Regions from separate parts of the Homo sapiens genome. Here regions 1 and 2 are each linked to region 3. Evidence: promoter capture Hi-C in 16 types of primary human blood cells and fetal thymus (Javierre and others, 2016). All regions are on one chromosome and are shown on one strand. The core of a region is centred on a gene start or on the middle of the fragment in contact, and the rest is flanking DNA. Distances in the headings are between cores, read along the strand shown. Region 1 overlaps PCCA (propionyl-CoA carboxylase subunit alpha). Region 2 overlaps GGACT (gamma-glutamylamine cyclotransferase). Region 3 holds the start of LINC00449 (long intergenic non-protein coding RNA 449).

Region 1 (2,700 bases), core at 99-2,598, 1.0 Mb before region 3:
CTCATCTTTTTCTGCCTCCTCTTATCTACTAATAGATATTTGTTACCTCCAACAAAAACCAACTCTTTTTTTTTTTTTTTTTTTTTTTGAGACGGAGTCTCGCTCTGTCGCCCAGGCTGGAGTGCTGTGGCGCGATCTCCGCTCACTGCAAGCTCCGCCTTCCGGGTTCACGCCATTCTCCTGCCTCAGCCTCCCGAGTAGCTGGGACTACAGGCGCCCGCCACTGCGCCCGGCTAATTTTTTGTATTTTTAGTAGAGACGGGGTTTCACCGTGGTCTCGATCTCCTGACCTCGTGATCCGCCCGCCTCGGCCTCCCAAAGTGCTGGGATTACAGGCGTGAGCCACCGCGCCCGGCCAAAAACCAACTCTTAACATTTAAAAATAAATGTTATCTGGAAAAGATTAAAAGGCCAAATCCAGGGGTAGTCGTTACCTCTGAAGAAGACAGGACAGGAATGAGATGGAGGAGCTTGCCACAGGGGAAGTTCATGTTATATGTAATGTCTCATTGTTAAATAAAATTTGAAACACATATGGAAATGGTGAACAAAGGGCACAGGAGTGCTTGTTGGATTCTTCTCTGTAACTTTCTGCATGTTTGTAGTATTTCATAATTTTAAAGTCTTAAAATGTTAACAAATGCATGGATCTCTGTGTACATGCTGTGAGATACAATCTGAGGTTTGGGTGAAAACTGGCATCTTGTCAAATAAACTGCTTGAATAACTATTGCTATAAAACATATAAATTTAATTACTGCAATTATTTTGTGATTGTAAATCAAGGTATCCAGAAACTGGAAAGTCTATGAAGCAGCCAGGCTAGCCCCTCTGCCAGGGAAAGATGCAGTGAGCGAGCCTGGGCTGCATGAGGCACACAAGCGCGATGCCAGGCAAACACCCGTCGGGAGGGCCCAGCCCTGCCTTCTCGTTAGGATACGTGAGAGCTTATGAAATTTTAAAATCTTGTTTAAGAAATAAAAAATAAAGGTATCTCACCAAGTTTGCCAGTTCTGTATGGTCGGCTATAAGCTCAGTTACATGAGGCTTAGAGACAAAGGGGAGGAGGGGACGTCAGACTCTGAGATGGGATGGGGTGCCTGTGTCTTGTGGCCCTGACTGCACACCTGCTTGGGAGCCTGCCCTGTCAAAGGAGCACGTGCAAGGAGGAAACAAAATCAGGGTGAAGTGTAAGTGGTGTTGCCACCGACGCCCACCGATGTGATGCTTTCCCTGGCACACTGTACAGTAGGCTGTTTCTCGCCTTTAAGGCGTTGTTCACAAGAGGAACAACCGCAGACACCTCACTGTCCCCTGCTGAAGGTCAATTCCATCACGAGGTGGATCTTTTCATCTTAGCCCCACCAAAATATCCCGAAGTCTAATATCGAATGGGCTAATTCGCAAGAAAAAGCAGCAACAGGTACTTAATTTCAATCTATTCTTTCACCTGGTTTCACTAATTGTTAAGAAAGAAAGAAATGCAGATGAGTATATAGCAGCTTATGGTTTGTTTCTCATTTGTTTGGTGTATTAAATGAGTATTTCTGATGCAAATCTGTGATGACTGCAGAATACGAACATTACTTGAAAGAATCTTAACTAAATGCAATATTAAAATGCCTCCTTGGGTGACTATCTTATGGGGTGGTTTTGTTTCTGATATCAAAAGGCTAACAAAGCGAATGTGCTCATCATGACTTTATTTGACTTCAAAGTCAAAGTGAAAATTATGCAATAAATTCAGCAGCTATAAGTCTAATTTGACATGTGGAAAAATGTATTCTACCGTTATTCTGAAAATATATATATTTCTAACATTTCTGTTCAAGAGTATCATAAAGGTAGAAGTTTGAAACAGCTGAGTCATGCTAACTTTGATTACAGAAGTGCTCCCAGTTTACAATAGTGTTACGAGTCTAAGAAAACGAGTTTTCAAACTGAAATGAGTTACTGCAGAAACATTTTCAGAAGGCATATAAAAAGGCACTAAAATTTATTCTATCAGTTGTTTCCTAAATTATATTACTGATTCTGGACCTTAATAATCCACTGTACTTTCTTATTGATTTGTTTGCTTACCTGCATTTTACTGTGTATTAACATCCTCTCTCCACGTGTTCGGAAAAACTATTACACAATCATTTAAAATGTGACCTGCCACATTTAATGTTAAATAGTATATAACAGACACTGAAAAAGTTATTAGGAACTTTTGCTGTGTGAACCCTACAGAAGCCCTTCAAATAAAACACAGCTTCTGTGTTTAGGGCAGGCTGAGTGTTTCAAATGAATCAGTGCACAAGGCCCTGCCACACCAAGCGCCCCGAGCGGATTCACTACTTCTCAACGGCCACCCCACATCTCTTCTTCCTGAGGTTTTTAAACTGTGTTCAAATTGTTTACTTCACAAAACAGATTTGTTCATTACGATTTATGTGACACTTTTTTTAGAACTTATTGCCAGGCCCACCATTCTACGATTGGTCAAGTTTTACTTCAGCTAAGCTAAACAGAAACATGATAGATTACTGGAATTTAAACGATAAAAAGTAACATTTCAAAGAAAAACAGAATACTTGTAAGGCCCTTAGTTGTTTTAGGGTCCTTATTTTCCTTGAAAATACACCAAGGAGACTGACTCCATTATCTTCCCACCCATAAAAGGGGAACCTCGCCCGGCTATTGTTAGTGCGGAGG
Region 2 (2,700 bases), core at 13-2,512, 1.1 Mb before region 3:
GGTGGAGACAGGTATTGCCCAGGCTGGTCTTTTTTTTTTTTTTCCTTCCTGAGACGGAGTCTCACTCACTCTTGTCACCCAGGCTGGAGTGCAGTGGCACAATCTTGGCTCACTGCAACCTCCGCCTCCTGGGTTCAAGTGATTCTCATGCCTCAGCCTCCCAAGTAGCTGGGACTACAGGCGCATGCCACCACACCCAACTAATTTTTGTATTTTTAGTAGAGACGGGGTTTCACCATGTTGGCCACACTGGTCTGGAGCTCCTGAACTCAAGTGATCCACCTGCCTCTGCCTCCCAAAGTGCTGCGATTACAGCCGTGAGCCACCGTGCTCAGCTGTTGCCCCTTTCAATCTAGGGCAGGGGTGGCAGATGTCTCTGTGAAGAGCCAGATACCAGCTCTTTCAGGCTTTGCAGGCCCTATGGTCTCTGCCACAACTGCTCAGCTCTGCCATCGTCATGCAGAAGTAGCCAGGGGTGATAGTAAATGGATAAGCATGGCTGTGTTCCAATAATACTTAATTTCCAAAGCTTTTGTGTTTTAAAATCCACCCACAGGCTGGACTTACCCGCAGGCTGTGGTTTGCCGACCCAAGTCTAGAGCAGCCTTGGCGGGTTTCCTCAATACCAATGACTGTCGATGTTACTTGGTTGATTGCCTGTAGGGTGCCTCACACTCTGGATCTGTTGGGCTGCTTTTCGTGGAGTGTGGTTTGGCTTGCTTCTCTATCCCCTATATTTCCTGTAAACTAGAAGTTAGATCTAGAGGCTTAATTAGGTTCATGCTTGCCATTTTTGGCAAGTCTACTTCAGAAGTGGTTTGACTTTTTTTAAATCTAAATTTATCTGACTTTAAAGACTTGGAAACCCTCATCAAAGAATCAAAGAAGCTCAACATTACCAAAATAGGAGCTCAGCATTACTAAAATTGGCTTTGCCTGATGGCTGAGAAGACATTTTTTCTTTTTCTTTTTACTTTTCTTATTTGTAGGAGAGTATATAGAGCTGTTATTTCTCAAATAGTTCTTTTTTGATAGTTAATTTTTGTGGGTACCTAGTAATAGGTGTATATGAGATACAATGTGTAATAATAAACCCTCATTACAAGGTATATGAGATACAATGTGTAATAATCACATCAGGGTAAATGGGGTATCCATCACCTCAAGCATTTATCTTTTGTGTTACAATCTAACGATACTCTTAGTTATTTTTAAATGTATAGTTACATTATTACTGACTATAGTCACCCTGTTGTGCTATCAAATACTAGATCTTATTCCTGCTTTCTGTGTTTTTGTACCCATTAACCATCTCTGCTTTCCCCCAACCCCCCTACTACCCTTCCTAGCCTCTGGTAACCATCATTCTGATCTCTATCTCAGTCAGTTCAATTGTTTTAATTTTTGGCTCCCACAAATGAGTAAGAACATGCAAAGTTTGTCTTTCTGTGTCTGGGTTATTTCACGTCACATAACGACCTCCGGCTGCACCATATTGTTGCAAATGACAGGATCTCCTTTTTAATGGCTGAATAGTACTTCATTGTGTATATGTACCACATTTTGTCAAGGAGGTCTTGAGAACTTTGAACCCTTTCTCTAGGTCACTGGGAAGGTTCCTCTATTCAAGGCATTCTTTGGCCCCTCAAGCATGTGGACTGCATTTTTGCACTGAATATAAGTATATTCCTTCCCTGGGTATGTGCCCAGGGTCTGAGATTGCCTTCTAATGGTAGTTAGGTCATTTATGTTTGTTTGTAAGCCCCTTATTGCTTAAATGTTTAACTTTCTTCAGTTGACTTCCTCTTATCTCACCTCCCAACAGGACTGAAAACTGGATATTTGGTCCCCATGGACTTTCTGGTCACCCTGTGAAGTGGACTTAACTTTTTCTTGAATCATGTGGAAGGATTCTGAAGTCAAAAGTTTTTAAGACTCTCAGGCTTACTGTGGATCTGGATTCTAAGGCAACACTTCCTTGAAGAAACAAGCTTACAGGTGAGAACTGTTAGCCTCTGTTCTAGAGTGTTCATTGCTCAAATTCTAGAGCACCACAAGAAGTATGCTGACAAATAGTGCCAGTTGGAAGCCCTTGTCTCTTTGTCATTTAAGAATAGTAGTGGTGGGGAGCCAGGTACGGTGGCTTGTACTGTAATTCCAGCACTTTAGGAGGCTGAGGCAGGAGGATTGTTTGATCCCAGGAGATTGAGGCTGCAGTGAGCTGTGATTACACTGATTATGCCATTGTGCTCCAGCCTGGGCAACAGAGTGAGACCCTGTCTCAAAAAATTAAAGGAGGAGGGAAAGGGAAGGAAAGAATAGTAGAGAAAGTGTATATTCATTTCTTCATCTGTTTTTCTCTGGGGTTGTCTTTTGATTTATAAGAATTATTTATACATTGAGAATACTAATCTTTTGTCATACGTACTATAACTATTTCCACCCTATTTTTTGTACTTTGTGTAATACAGTCTCTAGGCTTTGCAAAAAATTTTAATTTTATGTACTTAAAAATATCGATCTCCCCTTTATAGTGTCTTTGTTTTGTGTTTTGCTTAGAAAGACTTGCCCATTTTAAGGTTTCTTTTAAAAATTCGTGTTAACACAGATAAATGAAAATGTAATGAGAGCTAGGAACATGTGATTCTGAAAAAGATTATTGAAGGGGGAGTATTTCCAGACAATAAATACCAAACTAAT
Region 3 (2,700 bases), core at 143-2,642:
GTATTAAAATCTTTTACACTTAAAACTCAGAAATCAAGTGCCTCAACCATTACAGCAACTCTTTATTAATGCACTTTGTGTGGCTCTGGGTGTTATACTCCACAAATAAGGAACCAACTTCTAATTGTGAAGCGAGATATCAAAGTCCTAGAAAGAACAAGCTCTCCTAACCAACTAGAAGGTTCCAGGAAAATGCAATTAAACAGGAAGCAATGAAGTTAAAAGCTAATGGAAACTGTTAACTAGGCTGAGTGTTGCTCACATGTAGGGAGTCGGTCACCCGCTTCCTCAGCGTACATGTTACAGGGCTGTGAGCGAACACTCACGCGTGGACCTGCATACATCCAACTCCAAAGCTCTGAGGCGTGAAGCCCAACTCCAAGGGCGCTCCACACGGTCCCTGTTCCAGGAAAACTGAATACAGCTGCTCGTGCCACTTGGCCCGCAAGACGGGAGGCGAGTCTGAGGCCCACTGCGTCCTCCAGAAACTACCCTTGCAAGGGCTGTTTCAGAGCCCCCCACCCACAGCCCAGCAGACCCCAAAAGCTTCTGGGGAAACTCAACCCCACCCGCTGCTACGCCCCCTTCCCTCGCTCCCACCCGAGGATCAGCTCCCCCGGATAGGGACGACTTCCCCTTCCAACAGTGCATCAGAGGGCTCGTCAGGCCTCACCCACCTTGCACTCGTCGCTCTTTTTTTCTTCGTCGCAGAAGTTGACGGGCGCCAGGCCGGGCAGGTAGAAAGCGCCGCTCCGGCGCGGGCCAGGAACCGCCCCCAGCAGGAGCAGCGACAGCAGCAACAGCCGCGGCCACCGAGGTGGAGACAACACCGGCAGCCTCGCGCTCATGATAGTTGTTTCGGGGAAAGGGCAATCAAACCTAGGGGGTCAAGAGGGAAGGAGGGGTGGGGAGTCTCGGAGACGACTACAAGGCCGCCAGAGATAAAGGAAGCCGGCCCCCAGAAGGCTAGTTCCGGTTGCGCTAGGAGACACCCCGGGTCCCGCAACAGAAACCGAAGCGGACCGCAACAGAGCATGCGCACCGCCGTCTGCACATGCTCAGTGAGAACGGTCGCAGGCACCAGGAGGAGTTTCCGGGAGGGAGCGGGGGCGAAATCCACTTTCCGGGTTTTCCGCGCGCCAGCTGAGGTGGTTGCTGGGAGAGGTGGTTGCTGGGAGAGCTGTTCCGGCGCTCACGTTCCAATTCCAAATTACAAATTCCGATCTAGAGCTCCCACGCTTGGGGGCTGTGGAGCGCTCGCCAGCCGCTCCCCGTTTGCTGCTGGGTCTTACGAAGTTCTCATATCCATCATACAGTTTCTTTGTCACACTGTCCGCGGCACGCCAGTCCCTATGACAGAAAGCACCTGCGGTCTGTCTGGAGGCGGAGTTGGTGGCGGAGAGAAAAAGTTCTGGAGACACCTGGTTGGGAGCAGGCTAAGGAAACAAATGGGGAGGAATTAGCCACAAATCCTCAAATAGACAGCTACTCAAAGGCATCTTCACGGACAATTTCCAAGCATTGGATGCAGTGGTGCATTCTTGCATTGGGCAGTGATTGTGTGCACACATCTCTTTAAGGGAGAGTGGAAATGGGGTGAGGAGGAAAATGGGAGTAGGATAGAGTGTAGCGTTGACATTTATTTTCTTTAAAGGAAGACCCGAGCATACCTGAGAGCTCAGTGAAGAAAGTAGTTCTGGCGAATCGGATTAATATGGTATGATCAGCCTTTAGCAAGATTCTATCACTTTTCCCACTGATGATGTGAGACGGTGTCCGCGTGTGTAAGTGCACACACGTGTGTGTGTGTGTGTGTTGCATCTTCTGAGTATTTTTCAAGGAGAAGCTTTTTAGTGATCTGAAAAAGTCAATTCAGTTAGCCACTAGAGTTCAATCAAAAACTTCGGAAGAGTGCATCATCTTAAAGTACATAAGAGAGAATCATGACCTCCAGCTCAGAATTCAAGAATAGGCAGGTTTGTGAAATAGTAAGCTCAGAAAGTTGAGGGCCAGTGAACTCCTATTTCAAGTTCTTGCGGGTGTTTGTACTTTTTTCCCAGGTAAGGTTTATAACTTTCATCAGATTTTCAAAGGGACCTAGGACCCTGCAAATTGATCCATATAGTGGGGTAGCCAAGTTAATCAAGAGAACTGGGAAGTAGAAAAGAACGTTCATCTTAAGGTTGTTGTGAAGATTAAATCAAAAATGGAGGGAAAGTGCTGAGCACATAGCTTGGCCCAAGGAATGGCACTTTTTTTTTTTTTTTTGATAACAAAAACTAATCTGGTAGGGCCTGAGCAGAAAATTGTGCCTAGGTGGCTTCCCTTTCATGTCCTCTCCCTCAAATAAATCAACATATTCGCTGAACTTTGGGATAGGGAAAAATTGTAAAATATTCTGTATTTGGAAGTCATGGAGATTTCCAATATAACAAAAGGAAGCAGACGTTTTCTCCAAATATTAAGAGGAGGAAACAAAAATTAACATTTTTGCTCACTATCTTCTTTTCCTAGCACCACTGAAACTTGACCTTCGGCCGGCGCGGTGGCTCACGCCTGTAATCCCAGCACTTTGGGAGGCCGAGATGGGCGGATCACGAGGTCAGAAGATCGAGACCATCCTGGCTAACACGGTGAAACCCCGTCTCTACTAAAAATACAAAAAAATTAGCCGAGCGTGGTGGCGGGCTCCTGTAGTCC

What was found. The method cuts DNA at HindIII sites, captures the fragments that hold promoters and counts their contacts. A CHiCAGO score of 5 or more calls a contact.
Region 1: a contact is called between a fragment that was not itself captured here and the fragment with the promoter of LINC00449 in region 3, in 1 of 17 cell types (naive CD8 T cells). The highest score is 5.7, in naive CD8 T cells.
Region 2: a fragment that was not itself captured here is called in contact with the fragment with the promoter of LINC00449 in region 3 in 4 of 17 cell types (activated CD4 T cells, naive CD4 T cells, fetal thymus and 1 more); the score reaches 6.9 in activated CD4 T cells.

The regions. Positions count from the first base shown.
Region 1 is chr13:100,518,023-100,520,722 of GRCh38, reverse strand. The region is part of intron 22 of PCCA (propionyl-CoA carboxylase subunit alpha); the gene reads right to left. Among named protein-coding and RNA genes, the nearest start is that of PCCA-AS1, 38 kb to the right of the region's middle. RefSeq lists an enhancer at 821-1,486. The HindIII fragment of the contact is 2,940 bases long and covers 1-2,700 here.
Region 2 is chr13:100,583,123-100,585,822 of GRCh38, reverse strand. It overlaps GGACT (gamma-glutamylamine cyclotransferase), which reads left to right. Exons shown (of 3, transcript NM_001195087.2): 2 at 1,826-1,998. Among named protein-coding and RNA genes, the nearest start is that of GGACT, 4.3 kb to the left of the region's middle. The HindIII fragment of the contact is 1,462 bases long and covers 532-1,993 here.
Region 3 is chr13:99,499,755-99,502,454 of GRCh38, reverse strand. LINC00449 (long intergenic non-protein coding RNA 449) reads left to right here and starts at 1,392. Exons shown (of 2, transcript NR_133664.1): 1 at 1,392-2,060; 2 at 2,515-2,700. It overlaps TM9SF2 (transmembrane 9 superfamily member 2), which reads right to left and starts at 983. Exons shown (of 17, transcript NM_004800.3): 1 at 678-983. The coding sequence starts at 848. RefSeq lists enhancers at 603-1,191, 1,098-1,277. The HindIII fragment of the contact is 1,300 bases long and covers 549-1,848 here.